Linked DNA regions of Homo sapiens: all the other regions are linked to region 2. The links are contacts of gene promoters, found by promoter capture Hi-C in human tissues and cell types (Jung and others, 2019). All regions are on one chromosome and are shown on one strand. Each heading gives the region's core, a stretch centred on a gene start or on the middle of the fragment in contact. The rest is flanking DNA. Distances are from core to core; before and after follow the strand shown. Region 1 holds the start of SEZ6L (seizure related 6 homolog like). Region 2 holds the start of CRYBB2 (crystallin beta B2). Region 3 overlaps MYO18B (myosin XVIIIB).

What was found. Contacts are between HindIII fragments. The study calls those that stand out against the background at their distance.
Region 1: the fragment with the promoter of SEZ6L here is called in contact with the fragment with the promoter of CRYBB2 in region 2 in 2 of the 25 tissues and cell types used here (neural progenitor cells and spleen).
Region 3: a contact is called between a fragment that was not itself captured here and the fragment with the promoter of CRYBB2 in region 2, in 3 of the 25 tissues and cell types used here (H1 embryonic stem cells, dorsolateral prefrontal cortex and spleen).

What each region holds. Positions count from the first base shown.
Region 1 is chr22:26,167,982-26,172,525 of GRCh38, reverse strand. SEZ6L (seizure related 6 homolog like) reads right to left here and starts at 3,064. Exons shown (of 17, transcript NM_021115.5): 1 at 2,763-3,064. The coding sequence starts at 2,856. It overlaps LOC105372971 (a long non-coding RNA gene), which reads left to right and starts at 3,292. Exons shown (of 6, transcript NR_188586.1): 1 at 3,292-3,523. RefSeq lists an enhancer at 1,146-2,085 and a silencer at 2,912-3,041. The HindIII fragment of the contact is 7,592 bases long and covers 1-4,544 here.
Region 2 is chr22:25,216,577-25,220,927 of GRCh38, reverse strand. CRYBB2 (crystallin beta B2) reads right to left here and starts at 1,289. Exons shown (of 6, transcript NM_000496.3): 1 at 1,262-1,289. The HindIII fragment of the contact is 11,576 bases long and covers 1-4,351 here.
Region 3 is chr22:25,827,650-25,832,682 of GRCh38, reverse strand. MYO18B (myosin XVIIIB) reads right to left here. Exons shown (of 44, transcript NM_032608.7): 15 at 3,715-3,907. Among named protein-coding and RNA genes, the nearest start is that of MYO18B-AS1, 70 kb to the left of the region's middle. The HindIII fragment of the contact is 4,920 bases long and covers 1,251-5,033 here.

The sequences.
Region 1 (4,544 bases), core at 1,815-4,314, 950 kb before region 2:
AGGGCCAGTAAATCGAGCTCATTTGAACAGCTTGCAGGAATGGACTTGTAAGCAAAAATAAGAAAACAAGCCACTCTGATCAGAAAATATCCTTTTGCCCTGGAAGGGGAAGGAAAGGAATGTAACATTATTTTCTTAATACCTAACTGAGCCATATGAACACAAGATGAATCCCTCAAGCTTAGATACGGTGGCCCCTGGCAGGAACGGGCAAAACTCTATGGAAAATAATGCCAATCCATAATGAAAATAGTCTTTAAGTGAATCTAACCACAACACACGTTAGAGACTGGGGAAGCAGCAAATTTGAGCCTTATTGAGCAATACTGAATTTGCCTTATTAATTCAAGAGAAAAAGAAAAGAAATTATTCTTAGGCTTTGCAGTCTTTGCATGTAGTTACAATTATTCCCCATGTGCATATCTGAGACAATAAGGAGGCTCTTCAAAAACAAGTTATACTTTATACTTATTCATGCCTTACAGCGAAATGGCCCAGAGAACCACGTGACCTGCATCAGAATGTAGCAACAAGTCCCTTTTGAGTATTTACAAATCCCCTCACTTCACCGCAAGCAGAAGAACTAGTTCGCAACAACGAGTTAGGTGAATGGTTCTCCATCTGACATTAGTGGATGTTGGGCTCTACATTAAAAATAGAATTTATTGTGGAAGGTCAATTGTCTCCAAATGCACCATCAGACTCGGCAATGCTCATTGGCCAGTATCACTCCCTCCTTATGACTCAGAGTCAGAACCACACACTTATTAATGAGCTTTCTGAAGTAGCACATCAATTGACTTTAATTTGGTGGTGACCTGAAGTCAATTTAAAAAATATGCTGGCTAGCCATGGTGTTGAGCAGTTGGAAAAATAGTATGAAATGTCTTAAAAATTAAAACACACACATGTCTCCCCCTGCTCTTACAATGTGTTTGCAGCCCGTGAAGGAAACAGAATAGGAAATCCTTGTCTTAGATGACAATTCAATACGTGCCATTAAGACAATTTTTTTTTCCCTGCAAGGTGGTGTATTGGAGAGTGGAGTTCTCAGAGGTAGAACTGCTTTAGAAAATCCAGTAAGCTGCTGGGTAGATTCAGGTTCTTTTTATATGTGTGTTAGTCACAACACAGATTCAAAAGGGGGTGGGGGAGGGAGAGCTGGACTCAGTTCAAGGCCACCAAGCCATTGTTAGAAAGAGACAGCTAATTAAGAAAGGCCATGCTGTGGTGGAAACGATTTGTTTAAACCAAATCTCTTTCCCTATCTTTCCCAGAGAAACTGTCCAGACCTGGTGTAAATTGTGGACATTATTGCCCCATAAAAAAGGGGTGGGGGTTCTTCAATGATATGCTTTGTTAAACAAAAGGTGATGAACAATTTCCTTTGCTCTGCACTCTGGGCTCTACATTTAAAAAGACGGGGAGATGGGGGATAAAATGCCTGATTTATGCTGAGGGGGGCACTCCAGGCCACCGGGAAGGGTTGAAGGGAAAGGGACCCAGAGCCAGGGCCCATGGAGCTGAGAGCTGTCCAGGGCCTTTGGTGCTGAAAGCAGGTGCGCGCGCTGGGGGTCCAGAACTCCCCGGAGAAGAACACCGCCTGTCCCCCAACTCCGAGTCAAGACGGTGCAAATGACAGAGGCGGAGCCCCAGATAAGCATAGTGCCTGCGCTCCCTCTGTCTTCAGCCTGGGCAGACCCTGCAGCTGTCTGCTTTTTTACACGTGAGGAGCGCATTTCTGGGACCTTGCAAGAAGGCCGGGTCCTGTGGCCAACTAACCCTCCCATTGATTTTCGGGTCTCCTAGGTGCCTGAGAAAACCCCCGAAGCTCTGAGGGTTAGCTTTGGGTGAGTTAGGCGTTGCACCCCTCTCTCTATCTGGCCCTCTCCCCCACCCATAACTTTTCCTGGGGTACCTTACCGGGGTGGAGAGAGGGTATGGTTCCAGGTCTGAGAAAGAGGAGCTGTCATTCTCTGCTAAATTTGGGCCCCTCTTCCCCTTCAACAAACACGTGGTAGATGAAACTAACACCCCTCACCCCCCATTCCTAACAGTGATCAGAGATGCTAGGCAGTAGGGGAGAGAGTAGAGGGGAGCCCGTTCAGGTTCCCAACTGCTAACTAACATCTCTTCTCCCTCCCCTACCAAGTTCTCAGAGCCCTCAGCCCCCTCCACCGGCCTCTAGCGAAAGCCACACCCAAGTCCGGTATCCTGACGCTTGGCTGAGATCGATCCAGGAACACAGACCCTCGGGGTAGCCTGAACCAAAGGAGTCAAGGGTTTCTGTGGTGTCGGGGGGAGCGGCAAATGCACTGTTTGAGTCTAGTCCTCAGTTGCAGGGTGGGTCAGCTTCTCACCCCCCTTCCTGTCCTCTCCCGGAGAGGAAGATAATTATCTGGCACCTAGCCCCGGGTGCGGTTGCAGAGAAGCGCCGGGAATTTGGGGTTTGGAGGCGACCCCACTCCAAGGAGAACCTCTTTGGCTGCAAAGGAGAATCAGCCCCGCAGCCGGGGAAGACCGAAAGGGAGCCCGCAGCCGAAGCAGGGAAGCGCCCGAGTCCTTCAACACATCCCCGCCTCCACACTCCCATCAGCCCGGGCCAAGGGGACGTGCGGTTCCTAGCCCCGATTTTGGACAGCCACCACCGCTTCCCATCCCGGCGGGTGGTGCCTGAGTCGCCCTGGTCAGCCCCGACCCCTGGCTGCCCCGCTCTCCCGGCAACTTTGCCCCCTGCCCGCCCCGCCCCTCGGGGCGCTTACCTCGCTCCAGCGCTGCCGCCGGGCTCCCCAGGAGCAGAGCGAGGAACAGCGAGATCCCGCGGAGTCCCGCGGCGGGCGGCCGGGCCGCGGGCATCGTGGCTGCAGGGGGCGCGGAGCCGCTGGCTGTGGGGCGGGCGGACGGCGAGGGAGCTGGGGAAGGAGGGCGGCGGTGAGCGAGAAAGGGGAAGCGGGAGCGAGGGAGGAGGCCGCGGGCCGGGGCAGCTTCCGGAGCCCCCTGGGCGGACGCGCGCTCAGCCCCGCGGTCGCTCTGGCCGAGCTGCGCCGGGCGCGGGCGGGCGAGTGAGGAGGAGCCGGCGAGCGAGCGAACGAGCGTGGAGCGAGCGGGAGGAGGGAGGGGGCTGGGGCCGAGTCTGTGCCGAGCGAGTGCAGGGAGGGAGGGGGCGGGCGAGCGGGCAGTGAGCTGGAGGGGCCGCGGCGGCGCCGGGGGTGCCAGCCGCCTCCTCTGGCCGCCGGCCCGTCGGCCCTGCAAAGTTTAACGCCAATTCCCCTTGCGTCCTGGGAGCCGAGCGTTTTCTCTCCCTGCTGACGCTCCCAGCAGCTCTGCCTGGCCAGGCCAGGCTGGAGAGCACCCGGACCATTTTCCAGACGGTGAGATGGAGCCCTGGAAACCGAGCTTATGAGCAGCCCGGAGCTTTCCATTGCCTGCCCAGCCTTCCAGATACATCCCAGTTCCAGTTCTTTCCAGAGCCCTCTGGGATCCAGCCAGCCTGCTTCCCCGCCAGGGCCTCACTGCTTCCAAAGTGAGTCCCCATAACCTAGAAAGTCTGTAACTCTGTGGATCTGGTGACAGCTGTGAATCTACTAGAACACTACACATAGCCACAAAATCGTGCATCTAACACGAGGGGGTCTGGACCCCTCTGAAGCCCAATCACGAACTCTAAATTAAGATCCACCTCCACTTTTTAATCTGAGCCCTGTCTCCCATAACCCCACTGCCGGCAGGGCACTAGCGCTGCGAGGCTTCCTCTCAGGTCAGCCGCTTGCCTCTTCCTGTACCCGCTTCCCTATCTGAGCAGGACTACAAGGCCCACCTCTGCAGCATTCTTGCCCAGGCCTGATTCTCAAGCAAAGTCTTTTCTCCACAAATAGAGGTAGTGAGGGACAATCAATGAGGGAGATAAACAGATACTTGGGGACAGACATTGGCAGAGAGCTAGGTGGGGACAAGCTTATGCACAGTCCTGGAGACTGACTGTCTCTCCCTGCGTAGCCTTGGCAGACCGGTCAGGCTTTACAGGCCTCTCACCCAATTTAGAAGCTGTCCTCCTCCCCCTACCCTACCTTGCCATACTATCTACACACTGCAGCCTGAACAGGCAGAGGGAGCAGATGGAGAGAAGGTTGCAGGCAGCAACAGGGGGAGGAATATGTCTTTAGCAGCGTGGTGGAGCCGGGAGTCCCTAGAAAGAATGGGTGGGGGAGGTGAACACTGGATGGAGGAGGGAAGGAGAAGCACTCTGGCCCAGGGTTTCAGAAGACGCTCCACACCCAGAGCTTCCCCATTTACTCACTCAAACAATGCTCTTTTACAGGCCACTGACTATAGGCCCAGACCTGCCTCAGGCTTTGGGGGACAGAGAGCCCCCCCATAAAATCCTATCTTCAGCTGCAAGAGGTTTCCATTCCTGGCAGTAAACCCAACTGGCTTTTATAAAGAAGGTGGCTGAGGCAGGGATGCAGGAGTGCTGATTTCTCCTTTGGAGAAGATGAAGCACTCCATGCTTTACTGTATGAGGCTGCCAGCTCTCTGTGGAATGA
Region 2 (4,351 bases), core at 40-2,539:
CCCTCTCCCTGGGACTCCTCTCCCCATCCTGGTACCTAGATTTCTCTTCTCTGCCACTGGTTTTACTCCCCCATTAGTGAAATCATCTGATACAGAACCCACATTACAAGAAAGAGAAGAAATGGGTGCGACGGTAGAAATCCAGGCACTGTGGCAGGCAGCAGGGTAGACCTGCCTTAGCTAGTGAGAACATCAGAAAAGCCTGGAAAATTGTCAGCCTCTTCCCCCTTCCTGCAGAAGGGGTGGTCAAACCAGGCTGTGTTTCCCCAGGGGTAAGAGAGGAAGCCTGGCCTCCCTCTTCAGAGATAACGCCAGCTTCCAGAAGCCCCTTCCACATGAAAGGCCAATACTGGATGTTTCCCAGGAGGAAGAAATGCAGTTAAGCACCTTGGCAGCCAAATCTACTGCTCTCCCGCAAGAAACCAGCCCTCTGGGCTTGTCAGAGTGCCTGAGGTCCTGCCATATCACTTCCCAGTCCTGAGTGTTCACAGACTGAAGAAGCTCAGTTGGTCCAGTTCAGGAGCAGTCTCTGCTGCCTGCCAGAATTGAGACTCTGGGCAGGTCTCATCCTCTCCCTATGCCTCAACTTCCTGTTCTATAAAATGGGGACAGTAATGATGTCTAATAATACCTGTGAACAGGTTGTGAGGATTCAATTATGTAATGTATAAAACCGGAAGCACTTGGCCGTGGTCCCAGAACACACTCAGCATGCAGCAAATGGCAGCAATTGTGGCATTATTAGAGTCATTTCTACCATGCTTTAGTGGCATTGAAATCACCTGTTGCTGGGACCTGTCACATACCTGTGGCTGCATCCTATCCCCTAGCACTCCCAGAGGCTAGGCACAGAGTGGGTGCCCCCTAATTGCAGATGTGGAGGAAAACTGACTCACCCACCTAGAAACAATGCTGAACTGTCACTGGTTTGATTCTTGCAAAACCCTCAGTTACATTCTCCTCCTCAGCGACTGGCGAAACAAGGATGCTGATAGTCTGTTTAATATTAATAATAAAGAACATTGCCCCAATGCCCACTGTGTGCCAGGCACTGTGCTGGATGATCCCCTAACTTCTCTTGAATCCTTACAATAAAGAAGGCTTTTTAACCCCCTTCCCAGTTACCAGAAAAGAAAACTGAGGCTAACAGCATTGAAGTCTCTGCCCAAAGTCACTTGTCAGAATCTGGGTGCTCCCATGCTTGCGGACAGGGGTGAGGATGAGAGAAAGAAGGGAAGACAAGCAAGAGAGGCAATCTTACCAGTGACACCAGCCCCTGCGAGTGCCGTGAAGCTCGGCCAGCGGGAGGTGGCATTTATACCTTCCCCAGAAGTGCCGGTGCCAAGATGAGTGACCGCTGTGCTCCTGCGAAAAGCAGGGTGAGAATGCTGGATTAAGCTCTCACCAAAGCTCGGGTCAGCAAATGCCCACAGACATTGTGTCTCTGCACAATAATGTCATTAGCTTTCAGATTCGGCCGCGCCAGGGCGGTCAGGCGGCTGGGCAAGGAGATGCCCGCTTTGCATGCATCAGCCGTCCGGCTGCCAGGGCCAGGGGTACGCTGGGTTCACTGGTACGGTCAGTCAGGCCGTGAGGCATGGCAGACAGAGGAACATCTCAGTGGGCCTGGGGAAGAACAAGTAAAGAAGGGTGGTTTGGCAGAGTCTGGGCTTCATTCATCTACCCATTTATTCATTCAACAAATATTTGTTGGGCATCCACTTGGTGACAATCTCTGTTCCAGGGGAGTGTCAGGAAGAGGACCTACGCCAGCCCAGGCCATTCAGAAAAGCTCCTGGGAGGTAGCGCATCCCTCAGGGATGGAGAAGAGGAAGCCTGGGAACAGGGTGGGGGGACAGTTCCAAGCAGAAAGGGTCCATATACAAGGAACCAGCATGGTGTATTTCAAGAAGACCTGAAAACAGGTTAACAAAGCTAAAGCATGACATGTGACAAATAGGGCCTGTGCCAGGTGGCCAAGGTGGGCAGGGCCTGATGTTGCAGGGCCAGGGAGGCCAATTATGGAGAGTGCATTTTATTCTCAAGGCCCCTGGCTGTTTCTCTTTCTTTTCTTTCTTTCTTTCTTTCTCTTTCTTTCTTTCTTTCTTTCTTTCTTTCTTTCTTTCTTTCTTTCTTTCTTTCTTTCTTCTCTCTCTCTCTCTCTCTCTCTCTCTCTCTCTCTCTCTCTCTCCCCTCTCTCTCTCTCTCTCTCTCTCTCTCCCCCTCTCTCTCTCTCTTTCTTTCTTTCTCTTTCTTTCTTTTGAGATGGAATCTCACTCTGTCACCCAGGCTGGAGTGCAGTGGTGTGATCTCGGCTCACTGCAACCTCTGCCTCCCAGGTTCAAGCGATTCTCCTGCCTCAGCCTCACCAGTAGCTGGGACTACAGGTGTGCGCCACCAGGTCCAGCTAAATTCTTTTTTTTGCTGTATCTTGTTAGAGACAGGGTTTTGACATGTTGCCCAGGGTGGTCTCAAACTCCTGAGCTCAGGCAATCCATCCACCTTGGCCTCCTAAAGTGCTGGGATTCCAGGCATGAGCCACTGCACCCGGCCTGTTTCTTAACCACTGTCCTAGAGTGAGTTGCTCTTAGATCCCTACCACTGGCCCCATCGCTGCCACATGGGTGCCCAGCCTTTACTCACATTTCTTTTCTATTTTTTTTTTTTTTGAGATGGAGTCTCGCTCTGTCGCCCAGGCTGGAGTGCAGTGGCACGATCTCAGCTCACTGCAAGCTCTGCCTCCCGTGTTCACACCATTCTCCTCCTTCAGCCTCCCTAGTAGCTGGGACTACAGGCGCCCGCCAACACGCCCGGCTAATTTTTTGTATTTTTAGTAGAGACGGTGTTTCACTGTGTTAGCCAGGATGGTCTCGATCTCCTGACCTCATTATCCGCCCGTCTCGGCCTCCCAAAGTGCTGGGATTACAGGCGTGAGCCACCGCGCCCGGCCTTTACTCATGTTTCTTTAGTGCACACACCTTCCTTGCAGCCCAGGCTGTGTCTTGATCCAATCTGAGGCTTGGAGACTGGGTCAAGTATACCTGCTTTCCCCTGTCTCTCATTTTCTTAATGCACATATGCATGCACACGCATGCACACACACTACACACACATGCCCCAGCCCCCTAGCTGGGCTTTTCCTTTTGCAGCACTCATCACTACCCAACATTCTGTTACTCATTTATTTTCTGTCTTTCCAATGAGAAGATAAGCACCACAAAAGCAAAGAAGTTGTCCCCCTGGTTTACCATGGTATCTCCAGAGCCCAGTGCCTGACGCATAGTAGGTACTTGTTTTAAAATCCCAGGGCTGGCCGGGCACAGCGGCTCACGCCTGTAATCCCAGCACTTTGGGAAGCCAAGCCAGGCGGATCACCTGAGGTTGGGAGCTCGAGACCTGCCTGAGCAACATGGAGAAACCCCGTCTCTACTAAAAATACAAAATTAGCCGGGCATGGTGGCACATGCCTGTAATCCCAGCTACTCGGGAGGCTGAGGCAGGAGAATCACTTGAACCCACGAGGCAGAGGATGCAGTGAGCCAAGATCATGGCATTGCACTCCAACCTAGGCAACAAGAGCAAAACTCTGTCTCAAAGAAAATAAATAAATAAATAACATAAAATAAATCCCAGGGCTGCTGTAATAAAGTGTCACAAACTAAGTGGCTTAAAAACAACAGAAATTGGGAATGTAAAATGGTGTTGCCACTACGGAAAACAGTGTGGCTGTCTCAAAAAAAAAAAAAAAATCCAACATAGAATTACCATATGAGCCAGCCATTCCACTTCTGTGCACGTGCCCCAAAGAATTGAAAGCAGGGAATTGAAGAGATATTTACACACCCATGTTCATAGCAGCATTATTCACAATAGCCGAAAGATGGAAACCACCCAAATGTCCATCAACGGATGAATGGATAAACACTATGTGGTCTATCCATACAATGGAATATTATTCAGCCTTAAAAAGAAAGGAAATTCTGACTCCAACATGATGAGGTTTGAAAATGTTATGCAAAGTGAAATAAACCAGACACAAAAGGACAAATATTGTATGATTCCACTTACATAAGTTACCTAGGGTAGGCAAATTCATGGAGACTGGAAGTAGAATAGAGGTTACTGGGGGCTGGGAGGAGCGGGGAATGGGGAGTTATTGTTTAATGGGTACAGAGTTTCTGTTTGGGATGATGGAAAAGCTGGGGATGGATAGTGGTGATGGTCCCATAACAATGCCACTGAACTGTACTCTTAAAAATGGTTAAAATGGTTAATTTTATGCTATGCAGTATTTTACCACAAAAATGTCCCCCAAAAAACCCCAGAAGTTTATTGTTGTGTAATTCTGGAG
Region 3 (5,033 bases), core at 2,461-4,960, 610 kb before region 2:
ACCATCTCCAGAACTTTCTTCATCTTTCAAAACGGAATCTCTGTACCCATGAGACTTAACTCCCTATTTCCTTCTCCCCCAGCATCCTACTTTCTGTGCCTCTGATCTCAACTTTTCTAAGTAGCTTATGTAAGTGAAACCATACAGTATTTGTCCTTTTGTGTCTGACTTATGTAACTTAGCATAATGTCCTCAGGGTTCATCCAGCATGTACCATTTTATCAGAATGTCCTTCCTTTTGAAGGCTGAATAATACTTCCTAGTAAGTGCGTATCTCGTAATATGCGTATCTCATTTTGCTTGTCCATCGCCTGTCAATTGCAATCTATATATGAGTTGCTTCTGCCTTTCAGCTATTGTGAATAATGTTGCAATCTGGTGCACAAATACCCGTTTGAGTCCCTAATTTCAATTCTTTTCAGTACATACCCAGACATGGAATTGCTGAATCACATGGGAATTCTATTTTTTTAGGTTTTGAGGTCCACCATTCTGTTTTCCACAGCGGCTGCACTATTTTACATTCCCACCAATACTGCACAAGGGTTCAAGTTTCTCCACATCACCCCAACACTTGTTATTTTCTGATTTTTTTTAATAGTAGCCATTGTAGTGTGTGGGAGGTGGTGTCTCAATGTGGTTTGGATTTGCATTTCTCTTACGATTTGTGATGGTGAGCTTCTTTTTGTGTGCTTTTGTAAATCTCTGGAGAAATGTCTGTTTAATTAATTTTTCCAGTTGCTAATGGGGTTGTTTGTTTATTCATCACCTTTTAGCCTTTGTGTAGGAAGAAAGATTGTAAATCCACACTCCAATGACATTCTGCTCATCATGCAGCGTGTCAGCCGTCATGCTGAGAGCTTTATCAGAAACTGATAACTCGGTCCAAACTTTTAAAATATTTACTGAGAACCTAATGAGTGCTAGGCTGAGTGTTCGGTGCTGGAAGTAACAAATGTAAACTATGGGGAATAATAGTTGCCACAATCATGTCACCAGAAGCCGGATGCTGTGGCTCATGCCTGTAATCCAAGCACTTTGGGAGGCCGAGGCAGGCGGATCACCTGAGGTCAGGAATTAGAGACTAGGCTGGCTAACATGGTGAAACCCCATCGCTACTAAAAATACAAAAATTAGCCAGGCGTGGTGGCAGGTGCCTGTAATCCCAGCTACTTGGGAGGCTGAGGCAAGAGAATCGCTTGAACCCGGGAGGCAGAGGTTGCAGTGAGCTGAGATCACTCCATTGCACTCCAGCCTGGGCGACAAGAGCGAACCTCCATCTAAAAAACAAAAAATTTTAAAAAATCACTAGAAATGTCCAGGAAATGCTGTGGACAAGGATGTTCACTGCAGTATTGTTTATAAAGCCTTGAACTTAGAAACTACCCTGATGTCTATAGGAGAGGGAATACAATCAGATCTAACCACTGCAAGCAGGTTTACTAAGATTTGTAAGTGGAGGGAGGTTATGTGAATAATGTAATACTGTGAGGAAAATGACAGACAACAAACTCATATATACAGGAAGATCCAAAATCCACGGACAACATAATAAAGGGAAAATGGTAACAACAACAAACAACAAACAAAAAAGAAACAGAATAGTAACAATGGTTGCCTCTGGATAGAAGCGCCAAAGGAGATTGTATCTTTAGTTTCTTTATACTCATATGAACTTTCCAGCGTTTTAATTAAAAATGTATTACATTGATAATCAGAAATAAGTGAAATATTATGGGAAAAATAAAATAGCTGTTACACTCTTTATTCTTGTTCATTAAATGTTCAAAACGGCCCCTTTGGGGAGTCTGGTAACAATGATCTAAAACAACCCTGGTTCTCTGCACTTCCCTGTATCTATACTCTCTGCAGAGTGACACTGCAGTGCCTCCATCAAGAAGTGGAGCCTGTTTTCCTACCCCTTGAATCCATGCTCAGCCTTAGACCTGTTGTGACTCACCGAACACAGTGGAAGTGATTCTGTGCAGGCCTCAAGTCCAGGCCTCAAGGTCCCCTGCACGCTTCTGTTTGCTCTCTTGGAACCCTGCCCAGCACTACAAGGACAGCCCAAGCTAGCCTGCTGGAGGATGGGACATTTGTGGAACAGGGACAAGGTTACCCCAGACAAGGCCTGCCTAGATCCGTTCATGGCCAGCTGATCCCACGCATGAGCGAGCCCTGCCAAGATCATCAGAGCCATCTACCCCAACCTACACCTGAATCTGAACACAAGCTCAAGAACCATCCTGGACCAAGAGAGCTGCCCAGGCCATCCAGACACTTGTGAGCAACAACCGAAGATTTTTTTCTAAGCCACTACACTTGGGGGTAGTTTATTACGCAGCATTATTATGGCAAATCATAACTGATACAAAAGTATTATTATCTCTGTTTTCCACGTAAAAAAAAAAATTGAGGGTCAGAGAGGGTGAGTGCCTTTCCTAAGGCCACACAGCCAATAAGCGACAGAGTTAGGATCAGACCTCAGGTTTCATCAGCATCATCTGTTTGAGATTCATTTATGTTGGTGCTTTATTTTTATTACCAACCAAAAAAATGACTGGAACTTCAATACCTATTATTCTATATTATTCAACTGGTGAACAATATGGCCATTTCTAATATTCTGCCAGTGGTACTTATTGGAATAAAAGTGGTCACACCTTCAGGGAAGAAGGTGGGAGTCATATGGGGAACTGAAAATACTCTCATTTTCACGTGGGTGATAGAGACACACGTATGTTCATTTGGGTAAATTCACTGAGCTATATGCTTCTGGTTTATGCACTTTTCTTTGTAAATTTTATTTATTTTATTTTATTTTATATTATTATTATTATTTTTTGAGATGGAGTCTCTCTTTGTCACCCAGGCTGGAGTGCAGTGGCGCAATCTCAGCTCACCACGACCTCCACCTCCCGGGTTCAAGCGATTCTCCTGCCTCAGCCTCTCGAGTAGCTGGGATTATGGGCGTGCGCCACTGAGTCTGGCTAATTTTTGTATTTTTAGTAGAGATGGGGTTTGCCACGTTGGTCAGGCTGGTCTTGAACTCCTGACCTCAGGTGATCCGCCCGCCTCGGGCTCCCAAAGTGCTGGGATTAAGGCATGAGCCACCGTGCCTGGCCTTATATTTCAACTTAACCTCTTTTTTTTTTTTTTTATGAAAAAAGAAGGGCTGGCAGGATCATGCCTGTACATGCTTCCTGGTTCACACACAGAGTTTCTCTCAGGTGCCTCCTAGAAGAGGAATTGCTGGGTTTTGTGATGCATGTACCTTCAACTTTGTGAGACTCACCGTGCTGTGCTGCAGAGGGGTGTGGAGCCCACTGCTGCCACCCACCCACAGGACTCAAAGGGCATTCCCCCCCTGGGCAGATGCAGACTGACTCTTGGAGGAGCCTTCTGCTTAAGTGAAGTGGGAGAGAATGAAGCAGTCATCCCAAAGAAAGGACAGCCGTGGAAGCAAGGACTGGGGAAGCCCGAGTTCCTTGGTGCTTCTGGGCTGCGGGGTTCAGAAGGTGGCAGGGGGAGGCTGGGCTGTGGAGGGAGCAACAGAGGTCTGGGGAGCCAGGCCTGGGGAAAGGGCTTTGTTCTCTGGTGAACCAAACAGGGTGAAGCTGCAGGCTCCTGGGGAATGGGAATCCCACCCCTTCCCATCTGACCTTACACCATCCACGGAGCTCTGGTGAAAGCCCTGCTCCAGCCCAGGCATACCTCTTGATATCGCTGTAGCGTGGAGACAAAGGTCCGCTGGTAGAACAGCAGCTGCAGGCGCTCATGGGCGTAGTTGTGGCACAGCTCCTCAAAGGTGGCCGCCCGGTCCTTGCCCTGGTGCCGGGGGTTCTGGAAGCCTGGAGAGTCCACCACCATGATGGAGGCCATGGAGAGATGGTGGGAGGAAAAGGATCTAGGGAGAGAAGAGAGAGGTGGAATGTCTGAGATGGCATGGAATCTAGGAGCACACTGATCCAAGCCTCCAGCAGAACTGGTTTCAAAACCAAGCTCACCTCTTACAGGCTGTGTGACCTCAGGCAAGCTACTTAACCTCTCTGAGCAGGGGTTTCCCCAACTGTTAAATGAGGATGGGGGTGAGTAGGCTTATCCCAGGGATAGCTATAAGGACTAAAGGAATTAAACTGCCTCCCACTGGCCCAAAGTAAAAAAAAAAAAAAATGACTAGCTTAAGGTCACCCAGAAGTTGGCTACCATATGAAGCCTAGGCCCTCCTTTTCTTTCTTCAGAGGCCTATTAAAATCAAAAAACTATTTTATTTAATACATCAGTTTACAAAATTCTTTCAAGCTATCACCTCCTTGTATTCTCCTGATGAATCTGTAGGGGTGGACACAACAGGGATTATTCACATCAAAATTTAGGACTTAAGAGATTTTGGAGCCAGTCACATGTGGGCTTCAATCCTTGCTCTGTGACAGAGGGGATGTGTGTCTTGGGAGAGTTGCCCAACCTCTCTGAGCCTCCACCGTCTTAGCCACCGTCTCAGTTAATGATGGTGACTAGCTCAGAGGGCTGTTGTGAGGGTTGGGTGTGATAAGCTTCCATGGCTGTGAAAGCAAAGTTTGCCATGTGGTTAGTGCTCAGTAAATGCCACCTGCTCTCATCACCACGAGTATGATCAGCTAGGAGCTTTGGAGGCCCTTAGTTGAACCTTGGTTCTTCTGTTGTTTGCCAAGGTTTTCCAACTATAAAATGGGGATAATAAGAGCAGCCACCACACAGACATGCATGAAGATGAAGTCGGTTTATTCTTGGCAAGACAGACACCTACTAGGTGCTTATAAATGCTGTAGTAGGTACTTTGATCATCCATGCGGCATTTCACAGATGTGGCCTCTGAGAACCCAAACCTTGAAGCAGCTGCCCTTCACTGGTGAAGGCAGTTTCCTCCGCCAGCAGTTCATTTCCCATTCCCAGTACTCCCTCTCTAAGCACGCATGATCCCCTTGGTTTCTAGATAATATGTCTGTGGGCTCAGATGGTAATTACTTCAGCAGCGTCAGAGGGAGTTGATTCTG